7 separate regions of the Homo sapiens genome follow, and all the other regions are linked to region 1. Evidence: promoter capture Hi-C in 16 types of primary human blood cells and fetal thymus (Javierre and others, 2016). All regions are on one chromosome and are shown on one strand. The core of a region is centred on a gene start or on the middle of the fragment in contact, and the rest is flanking DNA. Distances in the headings are between cores, read along the strand shown. Region 1 holds the start of MATR3 (matrin 3). Region 2 holds the start of KDM3B (lysine demethylase 3B). Region 3 holds the start of EGR1 (early growth response 1). Region 4 overlaps ETF1 (eukaryotic translation termination factor 1). Region 5 overlaps ETF1 (eukaryotic translation termination factor 1). Region 6 has its middle 18 kb from the start of HSPA9. Region 7 has its middle 72 kb from the start of HSPA9.

Region 1 (3,026 bases), core at 189-2,688:
ATGTTTTTAAAGGGAAATTTTAAACATTTATTAAAATAGCCTGAAACATCATTTTTGTCCGCATAGTCAACTGTTTAGATTTCCCTGGGAGAAAAATGTATTTTACCGACTATTCAGAAATCTTAAGCCAAGGTTTAAAACACAGAACGCAGTACCAATACAAAATCTCGTGACCCCTACCTACGAAATCAACGATTCTTCACATTATTCCAGCGCGCCCGAAAGACTAGCCATTTCAGAACCACCATAACCGTTCTAGAAATATCTGGCTAAAAAACTGTAACTGATCCAATAGGAATATTCCACAGAACAGGGCCACAGAGCAGGATAAACACCTAGGGGATATTCATCCACGGTAAATGCCGAACACAGAACATGGCACAGAGCTCGAAATGCAAAGAACGATGCGGCGACTACACCACGGTACTCCAAAACCCTTTGTCTGGAAACCGGAAGGTCCCACACCACACGATCCTCTCTGGAGGAACCTGGACTAATACTATTTTGATAAAGAGAAAAAGGATGTGAGGTGACTTGACTAAACAAGTGCAAATCACCCGCCTCGCACTGTACTGCAGGCGGCTTGTTCCACGACGCAGTACGAAAAACAAGCGTTAACGTTTCATTTTTCGGCCATTTTTACGCGATGGGGGGCGGGGAGGAATTGTTTCTGATGTCCAGCTAACGCCGCGCGCGCGCGCGCGTGTGGGCCGGGAGTCTTAGGGGGCGCTCTGAGGCGATGGGCAAGGAGCGGCGTGAAGGCCGAGACACCGGGAAAAGAAAGAAACGCTGCTCAAACAAGCAGGCTCTTCAGAGTCTGCGAAATCCTCCATTTTGGGGGAACATTTTCAGAGAAAAAAAGGCGAACGGGTTATTTGGCACTGGCGCTACCCAAGGACTTAGATATCTTAACCATCCTCCTCAAACGGCAAGCCCCCAGTGTACAGTCTGTCCCTCAGGCCTCGAGCGAGCTCCTCCCTCCCCCTCAGCGCCGCGGCCCGCGTGTAACGGGCTAGTCGTCCCGCCCCCGCCCACAACGAGCCCAGGACGCGCAGGAAGCTCGGCCGGTCAGCGCACCTCTTCACCCAAAATCTCCCGCCGCACCCTGGGCCCTTGGCCGGCCGCGTGTTTCCCTCCCGGACCGCTCACCTCCGCCGCCCTAGAAGGCTGGTTGCGCCGCCACTGCGCTCCTAACATGGCGGCCGCCGATCAGGCGGCTCACATACGCAACGCGGAGGGAGGCAGAGCGGGAGCGAGCAAGAAAGGCGCGCCGCCGGCTCCCCGCAGCCCCTGTCGCCGTCGTTGTCCCCTCCCGGCGGACACGGAGAACCCCCAGCCACCCGACCCCGACTCTTACCCGCTTCACGCCTACCTTAGGGAAAGGGAGAGGGAAAAGGAGAGGTACCTCTCTCCCAGCGAGCGGGACGCGGAGACTCCCACAATCCCCCGCAGCAACGGCGCTGGCGAGAAGCGGCGGCAGCGGCTGCAGCCCAAGAACAAACCCACTCTCGCGAGAGAGCTCGCCCCCACCCCCTCGATCTGGTTCGGCGCGCGCCAGGCCCCTCCCCCTACTCAGCGCGCGCACCTCGCTCGTGCACTCGCCTGCGGTCGTTGTTCTTTAATCCCGGAGATCCCTCTCCGTCATCCAGCTGAGGCGGGAAATGGAGGAACAGACGTGGCTTACGAGTTCGAGTCCCATTCCCGAAAAGGCTGTTTGTCAACCTCCTGAATAGCATAATACAAAGTTTAAATAGGGTATGCCTTAGAAGGGATTCGCGAGAGTCCCTGGCTTAGACTCGACTTTTATGCTCTCTGGTTGTTCTGTTTGCCAAGGAATGGTGGAAAGCGCCAGATATTGGGGCCACAAAGGGAAAACGATACCATTTTGGCTGGTTTTTATTTAGGTATGTTTATTTATTTATCATAAATAAACTGTGTTGCTCAGGTTGGAGTGCGCTGGCGTTATCATGGCTCATTGCAGCCTCGAACTCCTATCCTCAAGGGATCCTCCCACCTCAGCCTCCCCAGTAGCTGGGACTACAGGCTCGCACCACCATGGCCAGCTAACTTTTTTATTTTTATTTTTTCCGTAGAGATGGTGTCTCGTTATTTTGCCTAGGCTGGTCTGGAACTCCTTGGCTCAAGCAGTGCTCCCGCCTCCGCCTCTCAGCATTGGATTAAGGGCGTGAGCCTACACGCCCAGCCAGCTGTTTTTTTTGTTTTGTTTTTTGTTTTGAGACGGAGTCTCACTCTGTCACCCAGGCTGGAGTGCAGTGGCGCGATCTCGGCTCACTGCAAACTCCGCCTCCCGGGTTCACGCCATTCTCCTGCCTCAGCCTCCGGAGTAGCTGGGACTACAGGCGCCCGCCACGACGCCTGGCTAATTTCTTTTTGCATTTTTAATAGAGGCGGGGGTTTCACCGTGTTAGCCAGGATGCTCTCGATCTCCTGACCTTGTGATCCGCCCGCCTCGGCCTCCCAAAGTGGCCAGCTGGTTTTTAAAATCAGGAATTCTGTGCAGGAGGGTCGTTGAGGCGGAGGACCGCGAGCCTTTTCCTTCCTAAAGACCACCGCCGCCTTTTGGTGAATTTGACTGAATGCAATACACTCTTGGGACTGAGGTACTGGTTAGGTACCCGGGTTGGAGGGATTTGAGCTCCGGCCTTCAGAGGCTTAAGTAAATTGTTTGGAGACCTAATCTGGCTGCAACTCTCTCCCCAACCATCCTTGCAGAACTCCGCATCTGGAGAGTTGGGAATTTTCCAGCACAGTTAATGATTATAATATGGAGTGCTTTCTATAAGGTGGGCAATGCAATAAGCAGTTTACACATAACCCTACAATAACCTTGAGAGGCGGCTACTGTGGGATACCATTTGGTAGATCACAAAACTGAGACATTAAAAGGTTATGTGATTTGAGGCACGGTAGATCTCGCCTGTAATCCCACCACTTTTGGAGGCCTTGGCGGGTGGATCACTTGAGTTCAAGAGTTCCAGACCAGCCTGGGCATCGTGGCGAAACAC
Region 2 (3,026 bases), core at 351-2,850, 940 kb after region 1:
GCCCCACTGAGGCCTTATAAATGTCCTAGTAACGTTTCTTATACAGCATGAAGAAAAATCAAAGCAAATGAACCCAAGTAGCAGAAGCAAAGCCTAAGCCATCCACAAAAAAAATCCATAAAGCTTGTATATTAGTGAAAAAGGACAGTCTAACACCGTTGATCAATAGGAAGAAAAATGAACATCGGAAGCCTACAACATTACTTCCAAATCTCACAAACTGCGTTCCCGTTTATATCTGCAAAAGCAAGTTCATCAAGAAAATTTACTTTCTGCTTGCTGATCTATTACATTCCAAAAGACCACCCCCTGCCCCAACACGCACACACACCATTTTTCATAGCCTTATCTCACCAGAGAAGCTAGGGCCCCTATCAAAATGAGGAAATAAAGTGGCTTGCCAAAACTCAAACACTATATTTTACCGCCACATTAACGAGAATAACACATCATGATCCCGAATGCTAGTTAAGTTGTATGACTGAACAACTTTAATCACAAAACACACCAAGGCATTCAAAAAGGGCCAAGCCCAAACACAAAGTTTCAAAACAAAACCTCTCCCAAGGTTGGGGGAGTAGCTGAGCTGGGAGCAAAAAGCACTACCCAGCAGCCCCGTTCGGCCACTAAGAAAGATCTCAAACTTAACAAAAACAGCCACAACTGCAGCTCCTGTCACCCAGAAGCGTTAAGGAAAGGAGAGGAGAGCTCGAGACAGTGCCGAGAGCTGGCCTTTCTGGAGACCGCCAGGCCGAGCCCAGCTCAGATGAGGAAGTAACTGCCAGATAAAAAAGCCCCGACCAGCTCCAACTGCAGCCTCCGTGCCTCCCATAACTGCCCACATTCCCGCCCCACTTGGGGCTCTGGGAGAAAAGGAACAGGGCGCAGGTCTCCTGGGAGAGGCTGGGGACCACAGGTCCGCGTCTTCGAGAGGGCAGCGGCAACACTGGCCGAACTCTGAGGCTCCCGGGAGCTCAAGATTCGAGAGCCTGCTCCGAAGGCGTGTTGGGGGGAACGCCGAGAAAAGGGTCGCCCAGGAGGCGGGGCCTGCTGGCTGCAAGCAGCAGCTCCGGACGCCCTGGCCGCCCCCCGGGGGAAACCGGGGCGCACACCCCGACGCGGAAGCCATGCCGGCAAGCGCTCGGGGTGCGGAGGTGCCGGCGGGGGGCGCTAAGGAGACCCGGGGGCACGGAAATGGGTCACCCCCATCCCACCGCCCCCTCACAAAGGCCCCCGGGGAGGCCGCCCGCAGGCCCCGCAGCCCCGGCCTCGAGTGCCCGACTCGGCCGCCACTCACCGCTAGGTCCTGGGGCACCGCCCCGCTCATGGCCCGCACCGTGCCGGCCCGCCAGGCTCGAGTGCGCAGCGCAGGCCCCGGATCTCCGCTCGCCGCTGCCGCCGCGGGAGCCGAGGCCGAGGCTGAGGCCGCAGTGTCCGCGAACAGCAGCAGCAGCCGCTTGCCCACCGGGGAGGCCGCCGCGTCCGCCATCGCCGGGGCCGGCCTGACCCGCGCTCCCGCCCGCCGCCTCCCACCACCTCCGCCGCCAAGCGCCCGATCCGCCCGCAAGGCCTCCCTCCGCACCACCCGCGGCCGCCGTTCCCCCCCACCCCCCCCAACAGCCACCACCAACCACCGGCGCAGCGCAGCGCCCCCCGTGGCCGGGAGCGGAGCCGCAGCCTGGGCCCCGCACAGCGCCCCCCGCGCTCTGGAGCGGGGCGACAGCTCCTGGCCCCTCGCAGCGCTCCGCCCCAATCTCCCCGGGGCCTGCAGTGCCCCCTGCGGTCTGGAGGGGAATTGCAGGTCCGGCCGGGGTAGGGAAGTGGGCGGGTCCTTCAGCTTCCCCATGGCATCATCCCTGGTCTCAATCTTCCTTCAGGGAGTCGTATATATGAGAGGGCTTTAGCTTGCTCTCCTCGGATACCAAAGACATTTACGGGGTAAGGGGGTGAGGGGCAAGGTACCTAGAGAGTGGATGTTTTGAGCTATTTAGTGTCTCCAATACCCCCATTGATTTCCTATCCTGAAAATATGAGCTCCTACCTGCTGTCTTGTAGGAAATGTTCTCCCCATTGGTCCATGAGACACAATGTCTTCCTTCTCAATGGCCCATAACAGCACCATCCCATTCTATACTGCCAGCACTTCTTAGGTTCCTTTCCAATTGGCCAATGTATTACTTCCATTGGATGTATAATGCCACTCTTTCCACTGACTGAAGGCCAACGTGCCCCCCAACATCTTGGTGTTTTTCCTAAAACCGACCTAACTTCTTCCCCTTCCTAGTCTGCCAATGTTATTAAGTCTACGTGTTTCTCCATTCAACTCTTAGGGGAACTGGAAATAGACCAACAGTAAAGGGGTTCTCTTAGTAGCACTCCATCTTACCATGGAATTAGTGGGGCTGGGGGCAAAGAAAATTCTGTAACTCTTATCTGAATGCATTTAATACAGGTGTGGGAGACTGATAGCTCCTGATTAGAAAAGGAGCCTGCAGAGAAAGTGAGATGCTGAGATTTTTGGCTAGATTGTTACCCACAATAAGCAACAGGAAATTGCCTCAATCATTTAAAGCTGGCAATATCAGGGACTAGCACATTCCATGGTCTCATGGATGCAGAGACTGAGTATACACAAAATGGATACAAAAGATAAAGGGTATAGTAATAACCCATGACTGTTGTTCTAAAAGTGACTTTTTGATTTTCCCTACAGACAGGAAATAGTGGTAGCTGGTTCTTTCTCCAAGGCTTCTGTGCCTACCCCAGCTATCTCCTGTCCATAACCTTGTCTACACCCTTGACCTACTTTTCTTGTAACAAAGGCTTGGGGAGAGGGGTAACCAACTATTGACTTTATACTTTTACTAAAGTATAAAACATATAGGAAAATCATTCTAGAACCAACCCTGTGGAGCACCAAGGAAACATTCCTCCCTCCACTTCTTTTTAACTTCCATCTCCCACAGCCAACCTGAGGCCTGACTCAGAATGTTTTTCTGGGCTGAGAGCCACCTCTTAAAGCACAT
Region 3 (3,026 bases), core at 158-2,657, 830 kb after region 1:
CACTGTTGGGTGCAGGCTCCAGGGAAAAGCGGCCAGTATAGGTGATGGGGGGCAGTCGAGTGGTTTGGCTGGGGTAACTGGTCTCCACCAGCACCTTCTCGTTGTTCAGAGAGATGTCAGGAAAAGACTCTGGCAGGAGAGAGAGAAGCGGGAGGCCTGGTTACTGGAAAGCAATCACTGGAGGACGAGGACGACCCGAGCTGCCAGGCAAGAGACCGGGCCGGCTACCATTGACTCCCGAGGTAGTTAATAATTGATAGCAGCACATTGCAATGTTCCTGGACCCGCACCAGTGGCAGAGCCCATTTCAACAACAGCTGACGCAAATACGGAGAATCCCCCTCCACTGCAGCTCGCAGCGCTCCGCAGCGGCGGCTGTGCGGGCGAGGGATTCCCGCCAGCACCCCCATGGCCGCGGCTAGTGCGCGCCCCCAAACCCGGGCTGCCGGGACATCCACGGCCAAGGATCACGGTCCTTCCTTGGGGACAGGCGGCAAGCAAGGCAAGGCAAGTCTTACTGGAGGTGGGGGGCGCAGCCCCGCTCATCAAAACAAGCCCTCCCCCTCCACCCACCCACGCAGCTCCAGAGCTCTCCATCCAAAACAAAAGCTCGGTCCTCTGCGCTCCGCTAGGGATGAGGGCAGGGGGTGGGCTGTGTGGGGTTCCTTGGCATCCCTCTAACACATGACTCTGGGGATGCGAGGAATGAAAGGGAAACCCGGCTCTCATTCTAAGATCCAGGAGCACTCCTGCGGTGAAGGACAGGACGCCAGGATGGTGGCGAAAGGGTTCCCCCTCGGCGTAGGCCACTGCTTACCTGCGGTCAGGTGCTCGTAGGGCTGCTCGCCCGTGTCCGCCTGAGGGTTGAAGGTGCTGCTGCTGCTGCTGCTGTTGCTGCCGCCCCCGCCGCCTCCACCGCCCCCGCTGCTGCTGCTGCTGCTGTTGCTGCCGCTGCCCTCTGGGGCCCCGGCGGCGCCGAGGAACTGGGGAGCCCCGTTGCTCAGCAGCATCATCTCCTCCAGCTTAGGGTAGTTGTCCATGGTGGGCGAGTGAGGAAAGGATCCGAACGGGTCAGAGATCTGCAGCGGGGACATCAGCTGCATCTCGGCCTTGGCCGCGGCCATCCTGGACGAGCAGGCTGGAGAGCTGGTGTCGGGGCGGGGGGGTGCAGCCCGGGGCTGGAGCTGCAGGGGACACAGTTGCGGGGGCCTGGCCGGGTTACATGCGGGGCGCGGGGAACACTGAGAAGCGTGCAGGCGGCGACCCCGACTCGCCCTGGGCGCGGGCGGGCGTGGACGCGCCGCGGCTGCGGAGGCTGGGGCAGGGGCCGGTCCTGCGGCGGCGGAAGCTGGCTGCGGCGGCGGATGGCGGCGGCGGCTCCCCAAGTTCTGCGCGCTGGGATCTCTCGCGACTCCCCGGATCCGCCTCTATTTGAAGGGTCTGGAACGGCACGGGTCCGCCTCCGTCGTGACGTACATGGCCATATATGGGAAGCAGGAAGCCCTAATATGGCAGGACCGGCCGGGAGGACCCGGAGTGACGTGAAGCCCCCCATCCGACAGCGCCCGGCACCTCCATCCTGCACCCTAGGGCCCGCGCCCGCGCCCGCATCCCAGGCGCCCAGGCTTCGGGGAAGCCTAGAGCTCTAGCCGCCGCCGGGGCCTCCGGGACCCGCGCAGCTCCGGAGTTCCCGCGTTGCCCCTCCCTCCGCCTTCTTCCCTCCTCCCAGAGCCGGAAGCGGCCGGGCCATATCGGGCCACTCCAAATAAGGTGCTGCCCAAATAAGGGTTGTTCCGGCGGGGGATCCTTCCTGCTCCTTATATGGCATTTCCGGGTCGCAGCTGGTTGCTCCCTCGCTCCCTCCCTCCTCCCTGGTTCCAAGCCGGGAGCCCGAGCGCTCGCGGGATCCGGGGACGCCCAGGCGGGGAGGGCTCGTGGCGTGTGGCGCTGGGCGCGCGGCTGCTCAGGCGGCTCCTAGGCGTGAACTAGGCTGGGGAAGCCCAGACCCAGAGCGGGGGCGAGGGCGAGTCGGGCCGGGGTTCTATCGCTGTCATCCAGGGCCCGCCCGCCCACCTCAGGGACCGTGAGAGCGAACCGGGAGTGCGGGGGAGGAGCGGCTGGGCCCGCCTGGGCAGGGGCCGCCCAGGAGAGGCGGGGCCTTGACCCCGGGCCTCGATCTATGGCACGGTGTCTTTCCGGGTGTCGCTGGGAAATTGAGGATAGGAAGTCACGGCCACTTGGTTCTTGGGACACTGTATAGCAGTGAGCTGCCTTGCCTCTGCCACCTGTCGGTGGGATGGGGCTGCTGGTGCCTGGGGTCCCCTGTGCTCCCCCGGAACCGAAAGGCTGTTCCCTAGTCCCCGCCGGCAAAGAGCCCACCTTTGGGGGACCGAAGTGGGGAAGCTGATTGCCCCAAGAGAGGCCTGATTCTTGTTCTCACCAGGAGATAATGGTCCTTGTGGTGAGGGGTCACTTTCCCCCCTTTATCCAGTCCAGGTGGAGGGCCGGCCCACACTGCGGGAATCCGAAAGAGGGGCTTCCCTATGGGCTGTCTGGGGACCCCGGGCTGGGCGCGAAGAGAGGACCGGCTTGGCGGCTCGGTGCTGCCCCCTGGAGGTTCCCTCTCCACTCCCAGCCCCGGACTCCGGCCGCGCGGGCTCTTCCGCCGCCTCCTCGCTCCTCCTCCCGGATGCGGCGCTGGGCGCGGAGCCAGGCCGGGGGAGCCTTCGACGCAGTGAGCACGAACTGAGCAGGCGCTGCAGCCCGGGCTCCCCCTGCAGTCCCTGGGGAGCCGTCACTGCCGAGGCGCCCAGACTCCGGGATAACACTCCTCACCCCGAGCCTGGCCAAGGCGAGGGGGAGAAGGAAGCAGGGGGTGGGTGGTGGCGAGGGAGAACGATTCCCGCAGGTCTCCCTGGGGCCGAACGCGAACAGGGAAGCCCTCCCCGCCCCCACGACGCAGTCAGTTGCTCACCCCAAAGGGAACAGGGATTCCGGGAAGGGAAGGCTCCTCCTGCTCTAGCTCT
Region 4 (3,026 bases), core at 199-2,698, 780 kb after region 1:
CCAACTAATTTTTGTATTTTTAGTAGATGAGATTTCACCATGTTGGCTAGGCTGGTCTGAAACTCCTGACCTCGAGTGATCCACCCACCTTGGCCTCTCAAAGTGCCATTGCAGGCATGAGCCACCACGCCCGGCCACAATATTCATGTCTTAATGCCAACTATCTAGCATGGTTTGTTAAAGATGGATTCTTAGTTGATCCATCTGCTTTCTAGTCAATTATTGAAGGGGCTATTTTCTTAAAATGGAATGGTAAGGCCAGGTGTTGTGGCTCACACCTATGTAATCCCAGCACTTTGGGAGGCCAAAGAGGAGGATCAGTTTATAAAAATAAAATGGAATGGGTAACAATTTCTTACTTCCAAAGAGATTGTCCCCTGGCAATTAGAGATCAACTAAGTGTGTAGTATTCCGATTCCACTGTGAGAACTCTTATCTATGTATGTCCCAGGACTGTTTCAATATTTTCTCTTTGGGAAGGCATAAAGGGATATAAAGTTAACATAGAAGGAAGGTTTTCCTCATAAAACTCAGAATCATTAGCTGCAATACCTTTAAAGACATGCTGGCTCATGCCTGTAACCCCGGCACTTTGGGAGGCTAAGGCAGAAGGATCATTTGAGTCCAAGACTTCGAGGCTGCAGTGAGCTATGATGGCTACTGCACTCCAGCCTGGCCAGCAAAGTGAGACCCTGTCTCAAAAAAAAAAAAAAAAGGAACAAGTTAAAGTTTTTTTGTTTTTTGAGACAAGGTCTCTGGATCACCCAGGCTGGAGTACACTGGCACAATCTTGGCTCACTGCAACCTACACCTCCCAGACTAAAGCCTTTCCAAGTAGCTGGTAGGGACTACAGGCACGTGTCACCACAGCCACCTAATTTTTGTATTTTTTTGTAGAGACAGTGTTTCGCTATGTTGCCCAGGCCAGTCTCAAACTCCTGAGCTCAAGCCATCTGCCTGCCACAGCCTCCCATAGTGCTGGGATTACATGTGTGAGCCATCATACCCAGCTTAGAACTCTATATTATAAAACTGAAACTGTATCCATTGAGCAATAATTCCTTGTTCCCCCTTTTTTCCAGCCCCTGGCAACCACCATTTGACTTTTTGTCTCTGATTTTGATTACTCCAGGAACCTCATATAAGTGGAGTCATACAGTATTTGTCCTTTTTTGACAGGGTTATTTCACTTAGCATGTATTCAAGTTTCATCCCTGTTGTAGTGTGTTTCAAAATTTTCTTCCTTTTTGAGATTGAGTAGTATTAACTGCTGTATGTAATATTGCTATAAACATGGGCATACAGATATCTTTCTGGTTTTATATTTACATGCCCATGTCAAATGTGTTGAAAAGCTTCACATAGATATCATTCGTTATTTCCTTATTGGGTTCAAATTTGTCCATAAGAGTTACATGTTTATAACTGAAGTCTATAAATTATTCCGTAGAAGGTTTTCCCACAGTGCTAATAGCATGGTGAGTGGAGTGAAAGGGCTTGTATATATCCTTTCAGAGTTTTTTTGACCTTAGCAAAGCTTTGGGATTCACCGTGTGGTACTTGTGTTTGCTTTTCAGGCTCTTACAGCACTACTTTCAGATGATAGCAAGTTTGGATTCATTGTAATAGATGGTAGTGGTGCACTTTTTGGCACACTCCAAGGAAACACAAGAGAAGTCCTGCACAAATTCACTGTGGATCTCCCAAAGAAACACGGTAATACAGGAGGAGAACATGAACCCACTTACTTTGTGTCTAGCAATAAGAAAACAGTATGGTGGGCCGGGTGCGGTGGCTCACGCCTGTAATCCCAGCACTTTGGGAGGCCGAGCCGGGTGGATCACGAAGTCAGAAGTTCGAGACCAGCCCGGCCCTGTCTCTACTAAAAATACAAAAATGTGACGGGCGCCTGTAATCCCAGCTACTTGTGAGGCTGAGGCAGGAGAATTGCTTGAACCCGGGAGACGGAGGTTGCATTGAGCCAAGATTGCGCCACTGCACTCCAGTCTGGGCGACAGAGTGAGACTCTGTCTCAAAAAAGAGAGAGAGAGAAAACAGTATGATGTGAGGGGAGTGAATCCAGATGATGGGGAGAGAAGCCTCCTGTAATGACTGGTGCCTCATTGGTACTTACAGCTCCTCTCTTGACATAGACTTAGTAGTCGCTCTCTGAAAACAAGTAGCAGTTTATGCTGAACGTTTAGTTAAGGGAATGGTGATTTTTCTTTGTCCTTTTCTTAGATGATGACATGATTATTTTATTTTTAATTTGAAGACATCTTGTAGTTCTTAATAATTGCCTTTTTCTCTTGCTACTTTTGTGTCAAAGGTAGAGGAGGTCAGTCAGCCTTGCGTTTTGCCCGTTTAAGAATGGAAAAGCGACATAACTATGTTCGGAAAGTAGCAGAGACTGCTGTGCAGCTGTTTATTTCTGGGGACAAAGTGAATGTGGCTGGTCTAGTTTTAGCTGGATCCGCTGACTTTAAAACTGAACTAAGTCAATCTGATATGTTTGATCAGGTAAGTAAGAAGTAGATGCTTTATTATGTAAGACCCTAGGTAGGAGTAGGTGAGTCCTCTGTGTGAGCACTGGAACAGACACATCTTTTTAAAATTCCTTGGGTTAAAAACTTGCCTCTGAGTTAAACAGCAGGTTTACAGATGTTTATCAGGAAACATTCCCCTGTGCTTTTCTGAACCCCTTCTCTTCTGAAATCAACCATTTTTAGGTGGGCTTCTTATGGATCCTGTGGAGGTTCCTTGTTTAGTTGGGTTGTCAGAATTGGCTGTAGAATGGAGTTTGATTTCAAAGAAACTAAAACCTGTTCCTTATTTTCTTTTTCTGATTTATTCTTGGAGATACATAGCAGCAAAGCTCTCAGCAGTATGACAGCTGATTCAGCCTAAAGCATTTAAAGCACATTTTATAACATGGGCTCAGCCATAATACACTTTCAAGATCTGGAGGAAGTAGCCTTATGGTAGAAGGTCCACCAAAGAAATTGCCTTTAAAAAAAAAAAAAAAT
Region 5 (3,026 bases), core at 331-2,830, 760 kb after region 1:
AAAAATGGAAAACACACAGTGAATAAAACAATGACAGTTTTGGAAATGGAGTAGAAATTGAAGAGGAACTGATTGATTTTCAGGTGGTGATCCATGTAATACTGCTGGCTTAGTGACTTTCCCAGAAATGATCTGGCTGAGATTTATTTATTTATTTATTTTATTTTATTTTTTTGAGGCGGAGTCTCGCTCTGTCGCCCAAGTTGGAGTGCAGTGGCTCGATCTCGGCTCACTGCAAGCTCCGCCTCCCGGTTCACACCATTCTCCTGCCTCAGCCTCCCAGGTAGCTGGGACTATAGGCGCCCGCCACCACGCCCGGCTAATTTTTTTGCATTTTTAGTAGAGATGGGGTTTCACCCTGTTAGCCAGGGTGATCTCAATCTCCTGACCTCGTGATCCGCCCACCTTGGCCTCCCAAAGTGCTGGGATTACAGGTGTGAACCACTGCACCTGGCCTCTGGCTGAGATTTAAATTGAGCTTTGTGAGGCAGGCACAGATGGGAGCTTGAAAAGGGAAGTGGTGAAAAATTTGGCCATCCATAGCCTAGGCACAACCCAGCCATCAAACCCTGGGATGAAAGCTTCTTGGGGAGCATGTACTGTACATCCCGGTTAGGGAGTATAGTAAGCAGTGTCTAAAACGTTCCTGGTCCTAACCTGAAAGTAGTTAACGTGATTTACAAGTGATGACTTGGATGGCAGAGTACTTGAGGGGGAGTGAGTGTTCGGGCTGGTAAAGTTGAGTATCTCTGAGCTGTCACAATTCATTATGGTTGTATTATAGCTAGGTTGTCTTAGGTTTTGGGGGTTTTTTGATTTTTGTTTTTGTGCTGCTATAACAGAATACCACAGATTGGTGTTCTGGTAAGGGCCTGCTCTCTGCTTTTAAGATGGCACCTTGAACGCTGCATCCTTTGTTGGGGAGGAACACTGTTCCTCTCATGGCAAGAGAACAAAAGAGAGATGGCCCACTACTTATAAGCACCTTATTTTATCTTTTTTGTGTGCGCGTGTGACTGTAGCTCTCAGGTCTTATAAGCACCTTATTTTAAATAGCAGCATGAATCTATTCATGAGGGCAGAGCCCTCATAACCTAAACACATTCCATATGCCCCACCTTTCAATACTATTGCAGTGGGGATTAAGTTTCCAACACATGAATTTGGGGGGACACCTTCAAACCATAGCATAGGGTAAATGCAGCAAGCAACTGCTCTGGGTTCTTCTTCTTTGGGTGGAGGTGAGGTTGTGGAGGCTTGTTACCTTCAGCAGACCTAGAGATGACCCTGTGAAGAAAGCAAGCCAGATGCAGTGATTCTCAACCCTAGTTCTGCATTAGAATCTTGCGTATTTGAGGCCGGGCACAGTCGCTCACACCTGTAATCCCAATTCTTTGGGAGGCCAAGGCAGACAGATCACTTGAGGTCAGGAGTTCGAGACCAGCCTGGCCAACATGGTGAAACCCTGCCTCTACTAAAAATAGCCAGGCATTGTGGCGCGTGCCTGTAACCCTAGCTACTTGGGAGGCTGAGGCAGGAGAATTGCTTGAACTGGGGAGGCAGAGGTTGCAAAGATCAGAGATGGCGCCACTGCACTCCAGCCTAGGAGACAAGAGTGAGACTCTGTCTCAAAGAAAAGAATCAGCTGGGTGCGGTGGCTAAAGCCTGTAATCCCAACACTTTGGGAGACTGAGGTGGGTGGATAATTTGAGATCAGGGGTTCGAGACCAGCCTGGCCAACATGGCAAAACCCCATCACTACTAAAAATACAACAATTAGCTGGGCGTGGTAGTGGGCGCCTGTATCCCAGCTACTTGGGAGGCTGAGGCAGAAGAATCACTTGAATCCAGCAGGCAGAAGCTGCAGTGAGCCGAGATCACACCACTGCACTGTAGCCTGGGTGGCAGAGCGAGACTCTGTCTCAGAGAAAAAAAAAATCTTTCATATTTCAAAATTGAGACTGTCTCAACCAAAATCATCACCACCCTCACTCTCCCTATTCAGAAACTATTGAGTCAGGATGGAGGAAGAAGGGATCTTTTGTGTCTGAGCATGTATTCTTTTATTTTGCTTCTTTAGAAAGCTCTAAAAGGATTCAGGGCTGGGAGGTATGCAAACTGAAGTGTTCTTGAGCATTGTTGATGATGGTGAACATTGATTAAGATCCTTGTGGGTCAGGCGGGCACGGTCGCTTGCGCCTATAACCTTAGCTGCTCAGTGAGTCTGAGGTGGGAGGAGTGTTTGGGCCCAAGAGTTCGTGACCAGCCTGGGCAGCCTTGTGAGATCCTATCTCGAAAATAAAAAGAAAAATTAGCTGAGCGTGGTGGTGCGTACCTGTAGTCCCAGGCTAGGGTGGGAGGATCACTTGAACCCAGGAGTTTCCAGGTTACAGTGAGCTGTGATTGTGCCACTGCACTCCAGTCTGGGTGACAGAGCAAGACCCCATCTCTAAAAAAATTATCTTTCTACTTGAGTTTTGTTTGGGATTTATTTGGTTTAGTTCTGTTACAATTCCTTTTTTTCACCTGTTTGATTTTTCAGACGTTAACCCTCTGGGCGAAGCATTGATGAAAGCTTTGATAAGCCAAAGTGCCCCTAAAACCAATGAGAACAAGAAGAGAATCTGAGTGCAGAGGCCCCTGGGAGCTTTGAGGGATACATTGCTGTATGTTGTCTCTTGTTTTGCCCAGTTTTTACAACCTGCATGTGACACATTGCTGTACCCCATGATTCACTAGTTCTTTGATTTCGGAAGAGGAGTATAGGGATAGTAGAAAAACGAAGGAAAACTATTACAGTTAAAGAAGGTTGTAGTTTGCCTGTGTAGCCAGCATCTCCTTAGTGAGAGCTTTATTTTTCATTTTCCCCTGAAGGGTGTTCACTTTAAAAGACATGGAAGTATTCAGCTTCCTTAATTTTATTTTGGGTGTTTACACAAACTGGTCTAACAACTTTGATTGACTTGCAGGAGTGAGGGTAAATGAATGTTTATCTTGTTTGGAAACTTTACTGGAAAAACGTTAAT
Region 6 (3,026 bases), core at 314-2,813, 700 kb after region 1:
TTTGTTCAGAGCTTGTGTGGGCAAAAACCTGTTTCTCACAGACCTGAGGTGGGGCACATGCATAGGGGGATGTTTTGGAGAGCATTTTAGATCCTGACCAATAGGAATGTCAGAGGGCAAACAGGCCTGAGCAGAAGAGAAACTGGAAATGGACTGTTACATTATGAGGGTCTGGAGAGGGCGAAAGCAACTGACAAGAGGGGAGTCCACTTGCCCAGGCCACTGGGAACTGCTGCAGCAGCAGCAGCAGCAGCAGCAGCAGCAGCAGCAGCAGCAGCAGCAGCAGTGTGTGTGTGTGTGTGTGTGTGTGTGTGCGCAGATCTCTGAAGAACCCACAAAAGTGCTTTATGAGAAAGCTAGATTTAAACACTGGCCACACTGGGAGGTAGGAGAGTGCAAAGCCAGCTTTGACATGAGACAAGTACCATATTTTCTGTCGCCTCTTAGTTTCTTGTGCTCTAATTCTAGAAGGATCAGAAACTTCAGAAGAGAAAGACTACACCCTTTCTTTTCATTTGCAGCAGGCCCCAGATAGGAAGGACAAATAGCAAATAGCTTAAGCTTCGAAAACCAAGCAGAAACATTGATAATACCAAGCTGAACATTTTAAGTGCCTAATTGAAATCATGCTGTACTGCGTACAGTGGCTATAAGGCTTCCTAACACCTCCAAGGGATCCTGAAAAGTATTTGTCCAGGAGCACACTTAAGACCATCACTACAAAGCAGGTTTAAAGAAACAGTGGGGCCAGGCGCAGTGGCTCACGCCTGTGATCTCAACACTTTGGCAGGCCGAGGTGGGCAGATTGCTTGAGGTTAGGAGTTCGAGACCAGCCTGGCCAACACAGCGAAATCCCGTCTCTACTAAAAAAAAAAAAAATAGCTGGGCATGGTGGCAGGCACCTGTAATCCCAGCTACTCAAGAGGCTGAGGCAAGAAAATTGCTTGAACCCTGGAGGCAGAGATTGCAGTGAGCCAAGATCACACCACTGCACTCCAGCCTCGGCAACAGAGCAAGACTCTGTCTTGAAAAAAAAAAAAAGAAAAGAAGAAACAGTGGGAGCTGAAAACAAAGTTTCTGTTATGATTATACCCCATCAGTACTGCTTGTCATTGTTCCAGTTGCAGTTATAAAAGTTGTTCTTCAATCTTTATTTTAAAAATAATTAAAACACCAAAGGACTCATAAGAAGAGGAGCTATTGTCAGAGCTAACAGTTCTCCTTGGCTTAACAATGTTTCAGTGTCCTTGTGGAAAATGAGGCTTCCAGCTCAGCCCACTTCTCCTCTTTCTTCTTCATTTCCTGAAGACTCTCTCTTCCCTCCTCCTGTTACTCTGCAGTATATAGCACAGTTCTGAGTACAGCCACTTTTAACAACATCATAAAACTCCCTCAGTCCTGCCCCCAACCCTGCCCATCTTCAGGAATACCATAAGGACTCAGAAGTCATCTCGACTGAGTTTCAGAGTCTCCTCCATGGTAACACTTGCTGCCATCTTCTCAATTTTACCTCTTTTTTTTTTTTTTTTTTTTGAGCCAGAGTCTCACCCTGTTGCCCAGGCCGGAGTGCAGTGGCACAATCTTGGCTCACTGCAACCTCCGCCTCCCAGGTTCAAGGGATTCCCCTGCCTCAGCCTCCCCAGTGGCTGGGATTACAGGCACGTGCCACCGCGTCCAGCTAATTTTTGTATTTTTAGTAGAGACGGGGTTTCACCATGTTGGCCAGGCTGGTCTCGAACTCCTGACCTCAGGTGATCTGCCTGCCTCGGCCTCTCAATACCTCCTCATTCTTTCCCTACAGTTGGGGAATGAGATACATACGCTTACACCCACATACAAAACACCATACAAAGAAAATTCTATACATGGATTCTAGCCCCTTAGAAATGTACTACTTAAGACAGTTAACATTAAACAGACAAGCATAAACATATAAACAATAGAGAAACAACATTAAACCAATACATGAATGAACAGCAGGGCAACTTCATGATTGAGATGGCAAGCAGGCGGCCAATCGATGAATGTTTACTGAACAGCTCCTAGGTGTCAGATGTTGGGCCAGGTTTTGGCAATAAAAATTTGAACAAAACAGACATAGTCCCTGCATACATGAAGAATCAAAACACTAGAGAAGATAAATACTAAATAATTTTTTACTAAAAAGTAGCTTATAGGCCAGGCACAGTGGCTTACGCCTGTAATCCCAACACTTTGGGAGCCAAGGTGGGCAGATCACCTGAGGTCAGGAGTTTGAGACCACCATGCCCAACGTGGCAAAACCCCGTCTCTACTAAAAATACAAAAATTAGCTGAGCATGGTGGCAGGTGCCTGTAATCCCAGCTACTCAGGAGACTGAGGCAGGAGAATCACTTGAACCTGGAAAGCAGAGGCTGCAGTGAGCCGAGATTGCACCACTGCACTCCAGCCTGGGCGACAGAGTGAGACTCCATCTCAAAAAACAAAAAAAAGTATTATAGGTGTAGACAGTGCTGTGGAAGATAATATGCAGGACTGGCCTAGGCCTTAGGAATCTAATCTATTCTGGGGGCTGGAGAAGCTTGCCTATACAAGTGACATTTATGTTGGGACCTGAAGGCTAAATAGGGTTAGACAACTGGCTGGTGGGGAGAAAGTGATCTAGGGAGAAGTGAGGGCCTATGGAAGTGCAGAAGCAACACTTCAAGGACCCGAAAGAAGGCCCGTGTTGCTGCAGTGAATCTATCAAGGAAGGGTTGCCGATATAAGGAGGTTGAAGGGACCAGCAGGAAGCTGGGAGATTTTTTTCTTTTTTAAGAGAATGGATCTCACTATGTCACCCAGGCTGGAGTGTGGTGGCTATTCACAGGCACACCATCATTGCACACTACAGCCTTGAACTCCTGGGCTCCAGTGATCCTCTTCTCAGCACTACAGGTGTGCACCACCACACCCAACTCTGGGTTTTTTTTTGTTTTTTTTTTTTTGAGACAGAGTTTCACTCTTGTCACCCAGGCTGGAGTGCAATGGCACCATCTCGGCTCAC
Region 7 (3,026 bases), core at 222-2,721, 650 kb after region 1:
GCAGAGACACATAGGTGGCCTGAGCAGGTCTTAGAGGACCAGAAACTTGAAAGCTGCCCCTTGGGCATGAAGCTTGTCAAGGCTAATTGGCCTCAATATTCTTTCATAATGAGTGTAGGGCCAGGTGAGTTGTCAGTGGGGAAAGGAGAGGAGAATTCAGAAGCTCACAGAACATCCACACCAGGGACTTGGGAGATCACAAAACCAGGAACTGTTCTCATTGGTCAGAGAAGATAAGTGATACCAATCTCCCAAAGGTTTCGGAGAGATTTCAGGCAGAGTCTGCAGCATGCAGGGGCTCCCTCACTGGAAAAGCTCCTTCACCTGCTGCAGAGAGGCAGCCACGTCTCCCCAAGCCGGAGCACTCTGGCCTCTAGCACAGCCTGGCATGCAGTGAATACTCAATAAACATCAGCTGTTGTGGATATTAGCATAATCTTCTGGTGGAAAGTCTCTGAGGGTGGTCCCTGCAGAGAGGGGTAAGCTTCTAGGACCCTGGGATTCACAAGGAACGGGGACAGTGCAAGGCAGGCATGGTACCAAGAGACCCAGCTTAAAGACCAAGGAGGCAGGCATGCCGGCCCCCACTGTGGCCTCTCCTTCTCCTGCCCCAGTCTTTCAGGGTCATCCTCCCTCTGGGGCCTGCAGGGAGTCCTCCCTCTGTCCCAGGCAGGCCCAGTGACCTTTTGCTCAAGTCTGCAAATATATTCTTGTCTAGTCTTGGAAATGAAATTGTGCTCAACATTTGTATAGGGCTTTTCCATTGCCCAGCCCTTTACAGACATTAGCTAATTAAATGGAGGAGGGATAGAGAGGAGCTGGCCTCTGCAGTCAGGGACCCCAGGCCCTTCTTACCTGGGCCCCAGTCTCACTCCTCCCTTCTTTCCTGCAAGATTGGCCTTACTCTAAAGAGAAGGCAACTCCTGAGGAATTGGCCACTGAGTCAGAAAGCAAGGGAAGCTGGGAACTTGGTAATCTGTGGAATGTGTAAGGGTCTTCCTGAGGTCATCCTGTCCCACAGCCACACCCAACAACTGGCTTAGTCTGAAAGTGCAGTTCTGTGTCTGCCATGAGTGGGTCAAACACACAGGGCACACAGCTGTGTGGCCTGTTCTAGGGATGGGGCCAACCTCTCACCCCATCTGGGAGGCACAATTGTGGACAGCTGCTCCCAGCCTGGAGCGAAGCATGGAAGCCTCTACCTGCCGCGGTCTTCCTGACCAGGAGGATCGGAGGGGAGCCATCCAGTGTCAGCAGAACAGCTTGCCCTGCCCTCCCCTCCATCTCCACCCTCCTAGAACTGCCCTCCAGGGCACAGCAAGTCAACTCTCACCTGGGGAGGGTGGGGGCGGATTGGGGGGCAGGGAGAGATACCAGTTACGGAAACTGACATAGACATAGGGAAGAAATAGGCCATATTTCGAACTGAGACTGTGGGAGAAAGGAAAGGAAGAAGACTAGAAGGAGAGATGGAGGAAAAAAACATCTTCACGGGGTGCCCGTAGTGTCAAAGATTGAGGATTTCTTCGCGGAGCCGCAGGCAGCCCCATGTTGGATTCCTCTAGCCTGAGAGAGCTGCCCCTCCCACCCCACTGCCTGTTATCCCTCATACCCACGAGGGACGGCATCACAGGTGCCCACTTCACAGGCATGGGCTTCTTCACGGGGCAGGCGGTGCACGTTTTCCTCCCTGATCCCGTCAGAGACTGGAAAGTGGAGACTCGCTCTCCTTCCACAGCCTGGCTGCACTCGGCTCACCCTGATCCCATCAGTCTGCCTGGAGCCGATTGGAGAATCAGCAATTCTGGAGACCCCGCCAGGTCCAGCAGAGGAGGACCTGACCTCCCCGCATCATAATTATCTGTCTCATAAAAAACAGGCATTGAACTTCATAAAACCAATTAGGGCTACAGGGCCAGGTCATGGTAGCAAGTAGGAATTTAGCTCTGGTGACAGTGGCAGTCAACTCCAAGGACAGAGCAGTATGTGACAGCTCCCTCCTCTCAGGCCCAGCCCTATAGGCCACCCAAACAAAGCTCCTGCAGATGCAACAGAAGAGGTTGAGGTCAGACCCAAGGAAGGACTGGCAGGGGCAGGAGCACTGGAGTGGTTTCTTCCCTTTGTGACAAGCAGCCCAACAGAGCCTGAGTCCTCCCTCCACAGCCTTCTCTGGTTCCAGAAAACCTCAAGAGCTTCCCATCATGTTACCAAGGCAACTGTAGCCCTGCAAGATTCACAGTGAGGATGGAGAGAGAGCGGGGACTGACAGGAAGCCCAGACAGAATGCCAAGGTGGAGGCACACATCTGAGACTGAGCAGGGAGGCAGGGGCTTTGGGCCACAGCAAGCAGCCCCTGCCTTTCTGTTTGGGCTGTTCCAGGATCTGTTTTCCTGCAGGCTGTGAGTTTGTTTTACAAACCCCAGTCCCCTGTGGGCGAGAAAACAGCATCAAAGCTTCCTTCCCTGTCAGGTGGGGATGGAGTGGGGGCAAAGGAGGGCTCCTCCACAATTTCCCAGCATGCCAGATGCTGCAGCTCCTGGCCCAGCCCACGGGCAAGGGTTCTCCTGCTTTCAAAGGCCAACGGGACCCTCCTCCATCACCACTGCTTGCTCTACCATGGTCCCCTTGGGAGGCAATCTTGCCAAGGAATCAGCAGCACAGGCTGCTGATTGGTTGGAATTGGAGAGAAGAGTGTTTGGCTCCTGGCTTGGTCATTTTCTAAGACTCCATGACCTTGGTGAAGTCACTTCTTGCTCAGATTGTTTCTTTAGCTGAAAATCGGGATAATATGATGAATTCTTAGGATTTAATAGTACCATATACATCATGTGCTTGCACCAAGACTGGCACTGTGTCAATTTTTTTTTTTTTTTAAAGCGGTTTGGGAGTCTCTCTGAGCCTACTCTGGCTTGGGAGCCTGCCTGATTTAAAAAATAATAATAAATTAAATAAAAAAGAAAAAAAAAGCTGTTAAAGGCTGGGCATGGTGGCTCAGACCTATAATCCCAGCATATTGGGAGGCCAAG

Evidence for each region. The method cuts DNA at HindIII sites, captures the fragments that hold promoters and counts their contacts. A CHiCAGO score of 5 or more calls a contact.
Region 2: a contact is called between the fragment with the promoter of KDM3B here and the fragment with the promoter of MATR3 in region 1, in 2 of 17 cell types (fetal thymus and naive CD4 T cells). The highest score is 6.8, in fetal thymus.
Region 3: the fragment with the promoter of EGR1 here is called in contact with the fragment with the promoter of MATR3 in region 1 in 5 of 17 cell types (erythroblasts, monocytes, naive CD8 T cells and 2 more); the score reaches 7.7 in erythroblasts.
Region 4: a contact is called between a fragment that was not itself captured here and the fragment with the promoter of MATR3 in region 1, in 3 of 17 cell types (erythroblasts, monocytes and megakaryocytes). The highest score is 6.0, in erythroblasts.
Region 5: a contact is called between a fragment that was not itself captured here and the fragment with the promoter of MATR3 in region 1, in 4 of 17 cell types (naive CD8 T cells, erythroblasts, naive CD4 T cells and 1 more). The highest score is 7.3, in naive CD8 T cells.
Region 6: a fragment that was not itself captured here is called in contact with the fragment with the promoter of MATR3 in region 1 in 1 of 17 cell types (endothelial precursors); the score reaches 5.4 in endothelial precursors.
Region 7: a fragment that was not itself captured here is called in contact with the fragment with the promoter of MATR3 in region 1 in 1 of 17 cell types (megakaryocytes); the score reaches 6.1 in megakaryocytes.

What each region holds. Positions count from the first base shown.
Region 1 is chr5:139,292,152-139,295,177 of GRCh38, reverse strand. It overlaps MATR3 (matrin 3), which reads right to left and starts at 1,438. Exons shown (of 15, transcript NM_018834.6): 1 at 1,373-1,438. It overlaps LOC124901081 (a long non-coding RNA gene), which reads left to right and starts at 1,621. Exons shown (of 4, transcript XR_007058956.1): 1 at 1,621-1,904. RefSeq lists enhancers at 1-662, 663-1,366. The HindIII fragment of the contact is 8,607 bases long and covers 1-3,026 here.
Region 2 is chr5:138,351,259-138,354,284 of GRCh38, reverse strand. KDM3B (lysine demethylase 3B) reads right to left here and starts at 1,600. Exons shown (of 24, transcript NM_016604.4): 1 at 1,298-1,600. The coding sequence starts at 1,489. RefSeq lists an enhancer at 661-760 and silencers at 1,011-1,480, 1,561-1,800, 1,821-1,900. The HindIII fragment of the contact is 3,421 bases long and covers 126-3,026 here.
Region 3 is chr5:138,463,860-138,466,885 of GRCh38, reverse strand. It overlaps EGR1 (early growth response 1), which reads right to left and starts at 1,407. Exons shown (of 2, transcript NM_001964.3): 1 at 818-1,407; 2 at 1-129. The coding sequence starts at 1,124. RefSeq lists silencers at 1,154-1,363, 1,454-1,803, 1,814-2,213, 2,534-2,803 and enhancers at 669-1,508, 1,509-2,349, 1,422-2,621. The HindIII fragment of the contact is 6,642 bases long and covers 1-3,026 here.
Region 4 is chr5:138,512,258-138,515,283 of GRCh38, reverse strand. ETF1 (eukaryotic translation termination factor 1) reads left to right here. Exons shown (of 11, transcript NM_004730.4): 5 at 1,578-1,716; 6 at 2,330-2,520. Among named protein-coding and RNA genes, the nearest start is that of ETF1, 29 kb to the left of the region's middle. The HindIII fragment of the contact is 182 bases long and covers 1,358-1,539 here.
Region 5 is chr5:138,529,195-138,532,220 of GRCh38, reverse strand. All of the region lies in intron 2 of ETF1 (eukaryotic translation termination factor 1), which reads left to right. Among named protein-coding and RNA genes, the nearest start is that of ETF1, 13 kb to the left of the region's middle. The HindIII fragment of the contact is 1,994 bases long and covers 584-2,577 here.
Region 6 is chr5:138,591,493-138,594,518 of GRCh38, reverse strand. No RefSeq gene overlaps it. Among named protein-coding and RNA genes, the nearest start is that of HSPA9, 18 kb to the right of the region's middle. The HindIII fragment of the contact is 2,000 bases long and covers 564-2,563 here.
Region 7 is chr5:138,645,587-138,648,612 of GRCh38, reverse strand. No RefSeq gene overlaps it. Among named protein-coding and RNA genes, the nearest start is that of HSPA9, 72 kb to the right of the region's middle. The HindIII fragment of the contact is 1,969 bases long and covers 487-2,455 here.